Linked DNA regions of Homo sapiens: region 2 is linked to region 1. The links are contacts of gene promoters, found by promoter capture Hi-C in human tissues and cell types (Jung and others, 2019). All regions are on one chromosome and are shown on one strand. Each heading gives the region's core, a stretch centred on a gene start or on the middle of the fragment in contact. The rest is flanking DNA. Distances are from core to core; before and after follow the strand shown. Region 1 holds the start of CAMKV (CaM kinase like vesicle associated). Region 2 overlaps TRAIP (TRAF interacting protein).

Evidence for each region. The method cuts DNA at HindIII sites, captures the fragments that hold promoters and counts their contacts. A contact is called where the count stands out against the background at its distance.
Region 2: a contact is called between a fragment that was not itself captured here and the fragment with the promoter of CAMKV in region 1, in 1 of the 25 tissues and cell types used here (bladder).

The regions. Positions count from the first base shown.
Region 1 is chr3:49,865,377-49,873,056 of GRCh38, forward strand. CAMKV (CaM kinase like vesicle associated) reads right to left here and starts at 4,530. Exons shown (of 11, transcript NM_024046.5): 1 at 4,382-4,530. RefSeq lists enhancers at 2,350-3,282, 3,283-4,214. The HindIII fragment of the contact is 8,966 bases long and covers 3,009-7,680 here.
Region 2 is chr3:49,830,261-49,837,940 of GRCh38, forward strand. TRAIP (TRAF interacting protein) reads right to left here. Exons shown (of 15, transcript NM_005879.3): 11 at 1,656-1,808. Among named protein-coding and RNA genes, the nearest start is that of UBA7, 20 kb to the left of the region's middle. The HindIII fragment of the contact is 4,817 bases long and covers 1,920-6,736 here.

The sequences.
Region 1 (7,680 bases), core at 3,280-5,779:
AGTCTCCCAAGAAGGCTGGGAGGGACCTGTGCCCTGGCTCTGTTGCTTTGCTTACACCATTCCCTCTGGCAAGAGTGCCCTTCCCCCAAAAGCCTCCCGTCAGATTCCTATTTGTCACGGCAGAGTTATTTATAACATTAAAAAAAATTCAGCAACTACCTAAATGTCCAACAACAGGTGACTCGCCAGCTCAACTGTGTCCACTCAATGGTAGGAAGTGTGGGCACTGGCAAGAGCTCTGCCCACCTTGGCTTTCCTGTGGAGCAGCTGCCACATGAGCGAGGTGCTGAGAGCAGAACTGAATCTCTTCTTTCATTGTGATTTCTGACATTATAAGGTGGTTTGTGCAACACATTGTCCAAAACAATCCTGATGCTCGAAGGCCAGACTCAAAATGGCCCTTTTCTGAGATACCTTCCACAACCTCCATGCCCCACCCCCCACCCCACTCCAACAGCTCCCAGCTTTGCCAGTGTGGCGTGGGTGGGAGGTTTTGTGCATGCCTGTCCTTGATCCTGGCCCCAGCTTTCGGCTCTGCATATGCATTCGTGCCCACTGAGGTCCAGGGCTGGTCATGGGGGTCTGTCCCATGAAAGGCACAGAAAACTGGGCCTCCACCCCGTAATGTCAGCCTGGAGCCATGTCCTGAAGCCTCAAGGCTGAGATGGGAACAGATCTGTCTCCCCTGCCCCCTACTATGGCTGCCCAAATTTCAGCCAGTCACTCCTCCTCCTCCTCCTCCTCACCAGTCTAAGTATACTGGCTTGGGGCCCTGGACTTGGCCCCAGGGCAAAGAGAGGAGAAAGAGGGGCCTGGCTTTCAATTAGCACCTTGGTTCCCTCTGCCCACACCCACTCCACCATCTGCTATCCACTGTTGCTCCCTGGGAGGTTTCGGGTGTGTGCACCAAGCCCTGGGCACCTGCTTGCAACAAAGGAGACCTGGGAGGAACAGCCAAGGGACAGCTCTCAGAAAGAGAGGAGGCCAAGTGGAAGGGGTTTGTATTTTTCACCCCCATGGCCCAGACCCAACACCCAACAATGGAGAGCTCTCCTCTCAGCAACACAGGATCTGAGCTCTTCCTCAGGTACACTTAGGCCATGGAAGGGCATGGGAGCTCCACAACAGCCATTTCCCTGGAGACATGGCTCCCTCCACTCTCTGCAGAGGAACTGAACAGTATGCACTACCGGCTGCCCAGAGGGAGCTTGTGGGGAGTGCAGGCCCTGGTGCGGCCATTGCCCTCCAGCTGGCTCTCATGGAGCCTGAGAGCCAAGCACTCCCCAGTTATGGCCTGCTCCCAGGGCCTGACCACTGGACTCAGGGAATTGAGCCTCCAGCAATCCTGAGGGGTCCTCTGTTGGTGCCCTGGTGATAAATGGTCCCCCAGGGACTCTGCTGCATCTTTAGGTAAGTCTGGCCCAGGGAAAGCCCAAACGGGACAAAGGCCAAGAGGTCCGGAGGCCCCACATTGGGGTCCTGTCCCCTCCTCCGCTGAGATCATCCTGGTTCAGGCCCTACCTTTCATAGACATAAACAGAGTTTCCTGCTACCTTGGTCCCCTGCCACGTGGGGCTCCAGAGCTTGCAGTAAATCTAGGGAGGCCAGGAGGGGCCCAAGAGGCCTCCAGCTGCCTCCCAACAACTGTAGGCAACACCTCCTAATTTAGTGGCAGCTGTGAACACCAGCCTGCAGGCACCCCCTCCTCTCTGCTGCTCTACTCTCTCAAGGGCTGGGGCTGGGTTTCCTGCTGCAATGAACATGCTGAAGCCCAAGCCCTGCTTAACTCACAGCTGAGGTGTCACCCACAGGACCAGGGGAGCTGAAGACCTCCCTCAAGGTCTGTTAAGAACAAGGGCCAAGCTTCTAGACCACCATCCAATTGCTTCAGGGGACCGGTCAAGGGGCTGCCCTGACTGAGCCTCCGGCTCGAGCTAAATCATGGTAGAAGTTCCTACAGCTGAATTTTGCCCATCTAATGAGGGAGTATTGTGGGGAGGTCTCTCCAGTTTTGGGGGTGGGCATGCAGTCCAGTGCTACATCCCGAAAGTTTAGCTGTCAACATGCAGGCAAAGCCAAAGGCCAGCTGTCTCCTCCCAAGCACTTGGGGTCCAAATCTCTGAACCCCTGAAGGAGAATCCACTGGAGGCTCTGCTTCCCTGTGGGTGGAGGAGGGGAAATGCAGAGGAAGGCACTAGAGTAAAGGGTTGCTATGGTGATGGAAGTTTTAAAACAAGGGGAGGGGGAGGGGAGATGTGTTGGTCAGGTCCCTTCTTCAAGAATTTCCTGAGACCTTAGCCTGGCTGCTTCTTCAAGGTTCTGTGACCCAGGTCCCCATCAAGAAAGGGGAGGTGGGGAGATGGAGAGAATTTAGAAAAAAGAGAATGGGGCAGAGACACAGACAAAGACAGAACCTGTGATGGAAGAGGAGCAAGGAGATGACAAAGTAAAAGGGACACAGGCACAAAGGGCAGGAAAGGGGAGGTGGACGGGAGTTCTGAAGGGGGCGGATGGGTGCCCAGCAGAGCCCTAAGGCCTCCATGGCGATGTGCTCTAAATCCCTGGGCCAGGAGCTATCCATGGTACTGGGACCTTCGAGACTGCACCCTCCTGTATCCCCCAAACATACACTGAACTTGGTGTAGGAGGCACAGCCAAAAGGAGGCCAGCTCCTTGGAGCATGTTGGTGGGGAAGAGGCCAGCTGCTGCAGCCCCCCAGTCAGGACAGTTCCCAGCCCGTCTCTCTGCCATCACGGCAGCTTAGGTAAAGCAGGTCCAACATGTTGAAGGCAGACGCATAGGGGTATGGAAATGAGGCTCGGATGCCTGGCTGCTTCCCTTTATAGTCCCTCTTCTCAGTTGGCCCAGCTGTACTTAGACCCTCCCAGCCAACCCCTCCCCCATCTGCTATCCTTTCCAGGCTTTGGGTCCCCAGAGCCCCTCTTACAGCTCTGCTTAATCCCCTCTCACCAACCCCCAACAGCAGATCCTGCCATGAGTGCCAGAAACGGCACCACAAGCAACCCAGAAACAGGATAACCACACAGCCCTTCACCTCCCCATGCCTCAGTTTCCCCTAATGGAAACCATGGAATCTGGCCTTCTCCCAGGGCAGAGGACTGCTTGCCTGCCTGTGAATGGTGGCCAGGGCATGGGGCTGGAGAGTAGGGCCATCAGAGATATGTGAACAGCCAGCCTAGGAGAGCACCTGAAGGGTCCACACCAAATATTAGAAAAGGGAGACCCTTGCCCCACCCTGGAAACCAACCTGACTCTGAGTGGAGACACCAGTTCCCCAGTTGAGGAAACTGAGGCTCAGAAGTCGCTGGAGCTGCCAGGAATCAACTCTGAGGGTGGGGGAGGGCACCAGGTCTCTAAAGGTAGTCCTGGGGGCTCAAAGCCTGGACTTGGGGGTAAGGGGAGTACAGCACAGGGACTGGACTACTGCAGACTCTGAGCTTTTAGTGTGGGACAGAGGGCCCTGATCCTTAGGAAGGAACCTGGTGGAGCAGGATCTGCCTGGGAGGTGCGGACAAAAGCAATTTGGCAGAGCTATGCGGGGAGGGGGCTGGGGCTCAAGAGCCCAGGGTCTCTGCCAAACAGTACAAGCTGGGGAAGGCAGAAGCTCATGCTGTCACTATCCCAGCCACCTCCAGCCAGGGGCCCTGCTCCCCACCGTGCTGCCACCCTGACCCCTTTCCCAAGTGCTGCTGGCTCGCCCCCGCTGGCACAGCAACACACATGCGGAAAGCACACGTGTGAGCACCAAGCCCCGCACCTCCCAGCAGGAACATGTGCGCCCCCACCCCCACCGTGCACGTGGGTCCATGCACTGGACCCCCAGCTGGCACCCAGGTGAAGGCTTGGAAGCTGAATTTTGGCTGGGGGGCTGCTGGTCCCCAGGGGCTTGGAGCTTCCTCCCCCACCCCGCGGCAGCCCCGCCCAGCCCCCTCCGGGTTGTCGCCCATAAAGAACTCTCCGTTGTCATGGAAATTAGTGACTGCTAAGCGGGAGGGAAGGGGCCCGGGGACAGTTGGGAGGGGCTGGAGGCGGCTCTGGGAACGGGGAGGGACGGCTCAGCTCTCGGCCCCTATCCTCACGGGGGACCACGAATCTTCGAGGGTTAATCTTTTCACAATTCCGAGCCGCAGAAGCTTCCCCCCAGAACCCCCAAGCCGTCCGAGGTAATGGGGAACTTTAGCCCGACCCCGCACTCCCTCCCCCAAATCTGCAAAGCCCGCGCGCTCTGACCCCGCCAGGACCTCGAGCCCTCGCTGCGCCCCCGCGCACTCTGCATCCCGCACCTCGAGCCAGGGAAACAATCCCCCAAGGCCCCACAACCTGCGTTCGGGAAGCGCCCCCAGCCCGGCCCGCCCCGCACCTGCAGCGCCGGTTGGTCACAGGGAGGAAGTGATCGCGGGCTCAGCGGGGCGCCGAGGGCTCCGGGGACGGCGGGCAGAATCCGCTCCGAGCACGCGGGGCAGACGCGGCGCCAGATGCAGCCGCTTCGGCTAGCGAACCTCCAGCATCGCCAGCCGCTTGCCGGCACCGGATTCGCACCCCGGGCCGGGGGCGGGCTGGGGGCGGGGCCTCCCAACCGGCCCCGCCCCGACCCTGGCGGAGCCTTAAGGGCAGAATCCCACTGGAGAGCAGGAGCGCGCGGGATGGCAGCGGTGCTGGTGAGCACTGGCCTGCTTAGCCCTGGCCAAGGTTCTCAATGGCTCCCTTAGGCCCTCAGCCTGGGGCCGGAGGAGGCCTCCTATGCCCAATGTAAGGGGTGGTGAGTGGAGAGTTGGGGGAAAGCCTGAGTCCTGGAGCTGCATAGGATCGCTTGCCAGTCATTAGTCTCTAGGGAACGGGGCTTTGCCCAGCTCCCCGAACCCGACCCAAAAGGCAGGACCAACTTAGAAAAACCAGATGGGCAGTCGGGCTAGGGCAGGCTCCCCTAGCTAGGAGCAGTAAACACACAGAGGTGTGTGTTTGCAGGTAGTCAGTGTGGCATCCCCTAGCATCCCCTAGCTACGCATCCCCTAGCTAGGAGCAGTAAACACACAGAGGTGTGTGTTTGCAGGTAGTCAGTGTGAAAACAGTGAGGGCCCTAGACTGTAGTAGCAAAGTCTCCTATCCCACCCCATCCCCAACTCCTGCAAGGCCAGAGTCTTTCCCAAACATAAGTACCAGCAAGGGTGGCAGCACAGTCAGCCCCTTCCTGTGTGGCACCAAATTTCCCAAACTATAAAAGTCACCTGTGACATGGTGTGGCCTCTGCTTTCTTTTCAGTCTAATCACTGTCAAACACTTCATGAGTTGTATCACTCTAGTGGCCTGGCCTGGGATATGGGGACACAGGAGAACTGTGGCACCAAGGTATCCCACCTGGCCTGGGTGCTAATCAGAGGGAGGAGGCTCAGAACCACCAGGAGGAAGCTTTAAAGGAAGTCCTTGGCCATTTCTCTGTCCCTTGTCAGTGAGGCTCACGGACCCAAAGCCTGACCCACACCCCTCACAAGCCCTGAGGACCATCCTAAGGCCAGTATCTGAAGACCAGACTCAGGCCTCTCAGTGTCTGGAGCTGGGTTTTATCCCACCTCACTCCTCCCAGTGAGCCTCCTGACCCTGCTGTGGGAGAGGGAGTTGGGGTCATCCCCAAACCCTCAGCCATCTTGAGGCTGCCCTGGCCACCCATGGCTGATGACAGGAGGGACTGTCCAAGTCCAGAAGCTGGGGCTGGGGCTCAGACTGAAGGCTAGCTTAGGAAATGACCGCCTCAAACAAGGTTCCTCAAAATTTTCCTCCAGAGGGGGTACTGAGCCCTTCACCTTCCTCCCTGGCTTGGTGTTACCTCCTCTAGGCCAGGCTGGTGCCACTTCTGGGGTCCCTGGGCTCTGAGTGGTCTCGGGTTATGGGACCCACCCCACCACTGGGTAGGAATCTCCTGGCAGGCTGGGTATCTGCAAGGCAGAACCCGTTTCTCATCTCAGTATGCTCGGCTGATGTCTGCAGAATGAATGAATGGCCTGGCACTGAGTCCTTCCTGCCATCTGCCCACTATTCTTGAAACAATGGGTCTCTGAGTTTTATGGTGTAGCCAAGCTGTAGCTTGCTGACCCCACACATGCCACATACATGTTTTCTGTCTTTCCTGAGGGTCATGGCTATCCAGGCATGGGGGTCAATGAGAAGCTGGAATGGGGATTTTTAGGCAGGGGAAGGGGTGGCTCCTTAGCGCCCTGCCTGCTGCTGGCAGTACTCCACCTCTTCTTGGTCCTAAGCACGCTCTGTGCATGTGGGTGAGAGCACGTGGCAGGGTGTGTGTGCACACGTGTACGTGTTGTGTATGCTCTCTTTTGCCGAGGGAGATGCAACAGCACAGTGTATGCAGTGGTGCCCAGGGGCACGTGTGTCTGCATTCTTTGTGCACCCAGGCATGCTTGCTGGCACGTGTGTGTGGACGCTGTAGCTGGTCCCTGGAGTTATCAGTCCCCTTCCTGCCTGACACAAGTCTCAGGATTGTGGAGGCTGAATCAGGCTTTGAGAGCTGGACATGGGAAGGGGGCTGGACCATGTCCAGCAGTGGGCAGGGTCTGTGCTGACCCTACATCATTGGCTGTTTTCAGGCTCCCCACCAGAGCAGCCCCTTGATCTCTGGTGTATGTGAAGATAGACAAGTCTTTGCCATTTGTGGAGGGCAATCTGAAGACAAGAACCCAGGGCTAGGATTGAGCCATGGCTTATCCCTCAGCCCCTAGACAGGAAGGCACAGGCAGGGTAGGACCGGCTTCAATGTTTTGGCTTCAACCTCCAGCTGCCTTTCAGGCAGGAGATAGTAACATCAGCTGAATGCCATCCTCTTAGCTCTTCCAGGGCAGGGACGGGACCAATGCTGAGCTTTGTTCTTACTTCCACTATTCAAAGCCAGACGGGGTCAGGGGACATGATTTCTCACCACTCCACTGGCCAGAGTGATGGCAGGAGGCCCTTTAGCACAGACCAGAGTTTGGAACAAGAGCAGAGGCAATCCAGATTAGCATTGCCTAGTAGCCTTTATGAGGACCCTCCTAAGGAGGCCTGTACCCTGAAGACAGGGGCTGCCTGGGTTGGGAGGCTGAGGAGGAGAAGAGGGCCCAAGTTCGTAGTTCTGGCTCCCACCAAAGCTAGAAAGTCAGAGGGGCAGAATAAGGTGCGAGCCGCAGTATCCACAGAGCTTCATCCCCCAGCTCAGGTTGGGCCTCCTACCCAGGATCCAGGACTTATCTGTGCCCCCAACTCCCAGCTCTAGGGTGCCAAAGGCCGGCACTCCTATGCCCTTAGATTCTGGCTGGCTGATAGAAGCCCCTGCTAACCCAGCATAGCGCTCCAGCAAAGGTTCAGACTCTAGGAGGTACCTAGATTACCAGTGCAGCTCCCCAAGAAGCCTGAACTCTGACAGAACCCTCCCACCCCAGGCCCCCAGCCATCTTTGAAACTGCCTGACTGTTGTCCATGTTGCTTGGCTTCAGTCCCCAGAAGAGGGCCCACAATGGGGAAGGGCAAGCAGTCTTTTCCTCTGGAGCCAGGGGAGGGGGCTGCCCCCCGCCCCCCACCTTGTGACTCACTCCAGGCTGTGTGGGTTATTACATTATGTTTGAAATTGCCATGGCAACAAGCTGGCAATCAAGGGTAATTGCACTTGTCGTCAGG
Region 2 (7,680 bases), core at 3,078-5,577, 35 kb before region 1:
GTGGCAGAGACAGGGATGACTGGGGATGACTGGACCATGTCCCAATCCTGTGGCTTCCACTCAAGGCCAAATTCCAACGCTCCTCAAGTCCTCGGGCACCTCACCATGTCCCAGGCTCTATATGGGGCTGAAGAGCCCAATCAACTCACCACCCACGGGAGGAAAGCCAGTCATGCCCTGATACGAGCAAAAGAAATTTAATGAGCTCAGGCCTAGTCCTGTCTTCCCAGAGAGGGGACACTACCTCCACGAGAGCCTCAGTAAGTTAGCCTTTCAGTAAAGTAGCCCACAAAATCCTCTCAGAACACAGGGCCAAGCCATCTCCCTAGAGAGTGTGTCTAAGAAGGGCCTGGGGCAGAATAGCGCATGGCCCCAGGCCCTGGTCTCCCAATCCCAGCCCCAGAGCCAGAAACTGTATTTCCATCCAATTCCTGGGGAACCCAGCAGCTGGATACCCTCTCCTGGCATTTTCCCTGGTGGGTGAGAAGATGGTGATCTAAGGCTGGCCCTGTGGCTTCTCAAGCCATAAGGACAAGAGTGGGATCAGGGCCTGATGACTGACTCCTCTGCTCCTGCCCTAACGGCCTGTGGTAAGGCTACATGACAACCAAGGCTCCAGGAAGGACGAGCTGAGTTAGGGACTCAGAACTTCACTACCTCCTTCACTACCTCCACAGGCCATGAAGGTGGTGGAAATGTCTCTGAAAGGCCTGGCAGCCTGAAGACCCCAGGTGTCCACCTTCAACCTTTACAGCGGAAGAAGGGCAATGGGAGGAAGCCAGAGTACACAGCAGACACTGACAGGATCCCTGAGGACTACAGCCCACGGGTCCTAGGTTTGTTTCTCATTGCTACCAGGCCTCGCCCTCTACAACAGGGGTGCCCATGCCCCCTGAGGTTTGGGAGGTAGGACAGCCCAGCTGGCTTGCCCTCTTGCTCCCTTCCACCTCCACTGTCTAGCATCTCAGTTTCTTTCTCTTTCTCTTCTTTCTCTCTGTACAAAGTCTTTGAAAAAGAGGAAACCTGCCCAGCCCTTGACCAGCCTCACCTGAACAGTACCTGTATGAATGAGTATAGTCCTTGTCTCCACAGTGAATTACACTTGGCAAAGCTGGCCAAGGAGACAGCCTCCCTTTTTCTGGTCCCACCGTACCCCAGAGCAGGTTCCACCTGCCCCACTGGAATTCCAGACAGCTTCTCATGCTTGCCCCTGTGGGTCACCCCCTTGGGTGGTAAGGCCTTGGGCTCTGTGGTTTGAGATGATCCTCCCTCAGGCATGAGCCTCAGAGGCAAACATAGAAGAGGAAGTTCAGAGTCCCTCGCTCAGGACTCTGGTGGGCAGGCCTTCAAGGTATTGGGAGCACCCTCTCCAGCCCAGACCCACCCCTTCTGGCATCACTGCATTCTCTCTAACTTGCATTCCAATACGTTTGCCTTGAAAGGTGATGGTGAGGAATAATGAGAAAAGAGAAGGGGTTTGCACAGATTGAGTGCTCAGGTGAGGGAACAAGAGGTAGCTGGAACCAAAGCCATGGCCAAGCCTAGGCAACCCTCACTGCCCCATCAGCCACTCAGAGCTAACAGCACAGGGCCTGCAGAGCTGTCTTAGCTATCCCCCTACCAGCCCATGGACAGTGCCAGCGACTATCACTCACTGTGACTTCTCTAGGCAAAGTTTTTCGTAGTAACCATGCTGGGAGCTGGAGGGCCGGGCTGGGGGAGTATCCACATCAAAGGTAGCATTGAGATCAATATCATCACGGAAGGATGGCCGGCGGAGCTTCAGATTCACCTCCACAGGGGCTGGGCTGAAGGCAGAGATGACCTGGTTACTTGGGGCCACAGTGGTAACCCAGGACAACAGCTCCTGAAGCATCAGAGATAACTCAGCTCCAGGGACCTGGAGCCCACTCCTGACTCAAGGCCACCCCTCAAGAGAGCCCTACTCTCGGCCAGGCACAGTGGCTCACGCCTGTAATCCCAGCACTTTGGGAGGCCAAGGCGGGTGGATCAAGCGGTCAAGAGATCAAGACCACCCGGGCTAACATGGTGAAACCCCATCCTACTAAAAATACAAAAATTAGCTGGGTGTGGTGGCTTGTGTCTGTAGTCCCAGCTACTCGGGAGGCTGAGGCAGGAGAATTGCTTGAACTCGGGAGGCAGAGCTTGCGGTGAGCCGAGATCGCGCCACTGCACTCCAGCCTGGGCGACAGAGCAAGACTCCGTCTCAGGAAAAAAAAAAAAAAAAGTTTAAATTTAATTTAATTTAAAAAGCACACAAAACTCCATGTATAGTGCAATTACATGATTTGGCACCCCCCCACCACTCCCACATGCAGAAAAAGGAGAAGGAAATATTCCACATGTCAACCATAAGTACCTCTATGATAACTCCCTATTTTCCAAATTCTCAATGAGTGTGTTTTTACTTTTATAACACGGGGGGGGGGGGGGGGTGGGGGGTGGGGAGTGAAGTTTTATTCTATTAAAACTACAGCCGACAGGATTCTTCCAGCCCACCCAGACCTGGCAGGGCTCCCCACCTCCTGTCATACAAGGAGAACCCTGGGGAATGGCAAGGGTAGCTCCAAAGATGCCTTCTCTCTTTCCTTCCTCAGGAACTTTTCAGAGCTGCACCACAATCCCACTTCCACTGGGGTGTACACATCAGAGGGAGGAAGCCTACCTGCATTGATTTGGGTGGCTAAGCAATCCAGGCAGCCTGGACTATTTCTTCCTTTCCCTGTCCAGGACCCTAGAAGCTCTACCTCTGTCCCCGCCTGCAAGTTAAAATGAAGACTGCACAAACCCACCTCAAACCAACTCTAGGCTGGCTGCTTTGCTTCCTCCTCTGGGAACCACAGCAGCCAGGACCACTCATGCCAACTTTTTTGCAGTATCCATATTCTGCCACCATTTACCAACCCCAGCAAGTTGAGGCTCAGGTTAGGAAAGGTAAACTCAAGAGGAAGGCAGGATCTCGCTGGGTCCTGTAAATTTTACCCTCCAGGTGGCTCAAGGCAGGACTTTCTACTCCCAGCCATCCCCTAAGGCGTTGCCTAGTGGTGCCCAAGCTCAAGGCAAGCCAGGCTTATTCACTTGCACCTCCTGGTCATCCACAACACTAAACTCAAGACTCAGGAGGTTCTCACGGTGCCTCCCTCACTCCCCATATCCACATCTGGATCATATGGACACATTTCTTCCTCTCTTAGACTGTTTCTTTTTTTTTTTTTTGAGACGGAATCTTGCTCTGTCACCCAGGCTGGAGTGCAGTGGTGCGATCTCGGCTCACTGCAAGCTCCGCCTTCCGGGTTCAAGCCATTCTCCTGCCTCAGCCTCCTGAGTAGCTGGGGCTACAGGCGCCCGCCACCACGCCCAGCTAATTTTTTGTATTTTTAGTAGAGATGGGGTTACACCGTGTTAGCCAGGATGGTCTCGCTCTCCTGACCTCGTGATCTGCCCACCTCGGCCTCCCAAAGTGCTGGTATTACAGGCATGAGCCACCGCGCCCGGCCTTGTCTTAGACTGTTTCTATATTCTTCTTCCTTCATGAGCTTGAAGCCTATTTCCCTTTCTGCCAGGGGTCCACTTTCTTTCCTTCCCACTTTCTGTTTGTCCTACAAGGAGAAAGAACCTAGGGCTTAGTAGTCCTTCCCTCACTGGTTGAGGCTGGCTTGAGGCCCTCCTGAGTGACACTATCACCCTTGGGACACCCACCCATGGTCAAGTTACAGGGCTTCATGCCAGAGGCCTCAGGGAGCCAGGCAAGACACTCAAAGCTCCCCTTTCCAGAACAGAGCTAAGGCCTTGAGCAGCCCATTGCCTGCGTGGCATGGGATTAGTCAACATCTCCTCCATGAACTCATGGCTCCTGGCGGCCTTACCCTACCCTAAGGAAAGGTCTCCCTGGCTGTCTCTAGCCTGGAGTTCAGGGGCCCTTGGGGCCCATGAGAGAGATCTTCCTAACATTGACTCTGTAGTTGGGGGTGGTGGCTACATGCTGATGCCTCCCTAAAATGACAGGTATGAAGGGTAATCCTACTGCAACAAGTAGAAGGGGCAACCACCATCAGCCCCCAGAGATTTCCAAAAAATTCTGGGAGACAAAGCATGGCCAGGGGACAAGAGACTGACACAGCAGCCAGAACCCACAAGGAGGGGGTCCATGAAGGAAAGGGAGGGCCTTGCAAAAGCATTAAACAGGCCTGAAAACTGGAACACTGATGAAATTGTGAGCTTGGCTCCACCCCATCCTAATCTGCATTGGTAGAACACTAGGCAGTTAGGCTGCTGCCCTGGGCCAATAAATAGAAGAGCTTTTCTCAAAGACACTAAACAAACTATGTACAATGACCTAGGGCAGCCAATATTATTGGACCCAACAGTAAAGCCTTCTGCATCCTGGGTTCAGGTAAGACTCAACATGATGCCAGCAGTCTGCACATCCCCCCCAAACCCTACCCACATAGGTTGGCCTCCAAAGTAGCCAAGGACCACCAGGTATGGGAGGGGAGCCCAGGAAAAAGTCCATGGTGCACAAATACTGACTCTGAGACAAACAGAAATATGAGACCATAAAACAAGAACATGATGCTTTGCAAAACAGACATACTCAAAGAGCAAGAAAGAATGCTTGCAAATTTAAAACATGAATACTGCCAGGCACAGTAGCTCACGCCTGTAATACCAACAATTTGGGAGGCTGAGGTGGGAGGATGGCTTGAGGCCAGGAGTTCAATACTGACCTGGGCAACATATTAAGACTCTATCTCTACAAAAAATAAAATTAAATAAATTAACTGGGCATTGTGGCACATGCCTGTAATCTCAGCTACTTGGAAGGCTGAGGTGGGAGGATCCCTTGAACCCAGGGGGTGGAGGTTGCAGTGAGCCGAGATCGTGCCACTGCACTCCAGCCTGGGCAACAGAGCAAGACCCTGTCTCAAAAAAAAATTAAATATGATTACTGATTCAGCCCTAAAAAGGAAGAAAATTCTAATACATGCTACATGGATAAACCTTGAAGACATTATGCTAAGTGAAATAAGCCAGTAATAAAAGGACAAATATTGTATGAGTCCACTTATATGAGGCTCCTAAAGTAGTCAAATTGATAGAGACAGAAAGAATGGTAAGTGAAGGAGCTGAGGAGAAAGGGGAAAGGGGAGTTATTGTTTAATGGGTATAGAATTTCACTTTGGGAAGATGAAAACATTCTGGAGTGGGATGGTGGTGATGGTTGCACAGCAATTAAATGTACTTGATGCCACAGAAATGTACTTAAAAATGGTTACAATGGTGAGTTTTGTTTATATTTTACTACAATAAAAAATACTGCTGCAGTAAAAAGTTATAAAAATTAAGAAGCTTCTTAAAAAACTTAAGAAACTTCTTGGCCGGGCACGGTGGCGCACACCTGTAATCCCAGCACTTTGGGAGGCCGAGGTGGGTGGATCACAAGGTCAGGAGATGGAGACCATCCTGGCTAACACGGTGAAACCCTGTCTCTACTAAAAATACAAAAAATTAGCCGGGCGTGGTGGCGGGCACCTGTAGTCCCAGCTACTCGGGAGGCTGAGGCAGGAGAATAGCGTGAACCGGGGAGGCGGAGCTTGAAGTGAGCCGAGATCGTGCCACTGCACTCCAGCCTGGGCTACAGAGCAAGACTCCATCTCAAAAAAAAAAAAAAAATTCTTAATTTTTTTTTGTTTTTGTTTTTGCGACAGTCTCGCTCTGTCATCCAGGCTGGAGTACAGTAGCACGATTCTGGCTCACTGCAACCTCCACCTCCCAGATTCAAGCCATTCTTGTGCATCAGCCTCCCAAGTAGCTGGGATTATAGGCGTGTACCACCACACCTGGCTAATTTTTGTATTTTTAGTACAGCCACCATATCCAGCCAGAGATTTATTAATTTTCCTAATTTTAAATTAAGAAATGGTGGTGGCTGGGTGTGGTGGCTCACACCTATAATCCCAGCACTTTGGGAGGCCGAGGTGGGAAGATCACTTGAGATCAGGAATTAAAGACCAGCCTGGCCAACATGGTGAAGCCCCATCTCTACTAAAAATACAAAAAACTAGCTGGGCATGGTGGTGCGTGCCTATAATCCCAGCTACTGGGGAGGTTGAGGCAGGAGAATCTCTTCAACCGGGAAGCGGAGGTTGCAGCGAGCCAAGATTGCACCACTGTACTCCAGCCTAGGCAACAGAGCAAGACACTGTTTCAAAAAAAAGAAAAGAAAAGAAAAGGAAAAAGAAAAAGAAAAAGCAAAGCAAAGCAAAGCAAAGCAAAGCGGTGGCTCACGCCTGTAACCCAGCACTTTGGGAAGCCCAGGCAGGAGGATCGCTTGAGGCCAGGAGTTCAAGACCAGCCTGGACAATAAGTGAGACCCTGCCTCTACAAAAAATTAGTTGGGCGTGGTGGTGCATGCCTGTAGTCAATCCCAGCCACTCAGGAGATTGAGGCAGGAGGACCACTTGAGCCCAGGAGGTGGAGCTGCTATGAGAACAGTGAAAATTTACTGAAGTTTACCAGCTTCTTCATCACCCTCTCCCCTGGATACTGGAAATGTTCTACTAGACCAGATTTCCAAAGTGGTTGCTTCAGATGGTTTCAACCAGATCAACTGTTGCCATGGAGAGATGGATTCCTGGAGCTTTCTACTCTTCCATCTTCCTTGACATGACTTTTTTTTTTTTTTTTTTTTTTTTGAGACAGGTCTCACTCTGTCGCCCAGACTAGAGTGCAGTGGCGTGATCATCACTTACTGCAGTCTTGACCTCCCAGGCTCAAGTGATCCTCTCACCTCAGCCTCCCGAGTAGGTGGCCCAAGAAAACTTAAGACTTCTTCCAGACCTCTGTAGTAACACATTAGCAGTCACAGGAGAAAGGTAGAGGCAGAGTCTTTGAGGTCACTTGTAGTTCTGAGGGTCTTGCCATCAGAACACAAAGAAGACAGGGCAATGCCGTTGCTGAGGATTCAACAACTATTTTTGAGAGTTTGAGGCTATGAGTTTAGAAGAGGCTGTGCCTAGGCTGGGCATGGTGGCTCACGCTCGTAATCCCAGCACTTTAGTCCCAGCTACCCAGGAGGCTGAGGCAGGATCACATCACCTGAGCCCAGGAGGTTGAGGCTGCAGTGAGCTGTGATCACACCACTGCACTCCAGCCTGGGCAACAGAATGAGGCCCTATCTCAAAACAAACAAACCAACAAACAAACCAACAAACAAACACAAGAATAGACTGTGCTGGTGCTGCCTAATGCCTAGTTAAAAGAAGGGCTTTTGCTAAAAACAAACAGACCTGCCACCGTAATTTTTTTTTGTTTTTGCTTGAGACGGAGTCTCTCTGTCACCCAGGCTGGAGTGCAGTGGCACGATCTCGGCTCACTGCAACCTCTACCTCCCAGGGTCAAGCGATTGTCCTGCCTCAACCTCTCAAGTAACTGGGATTACAGGCGCCTGCCACCACACCCAGCTAATTTTTCTATTTTTAGTAGAGACGGGGTTTCACCATATTGGTCAGGCTGGTCTCGAACTCCTGACCTCAGGTGATCCACTCACCTCAGCCTCCCAAAGTGCTGGGGCTACAGGTGTGAGCCACCACGCCCGGACTTTTTTTTTTTTTCCAAGAGAGACGGGGTCTTACTCTGTCTCCCAGGCTGGAGTGCAGT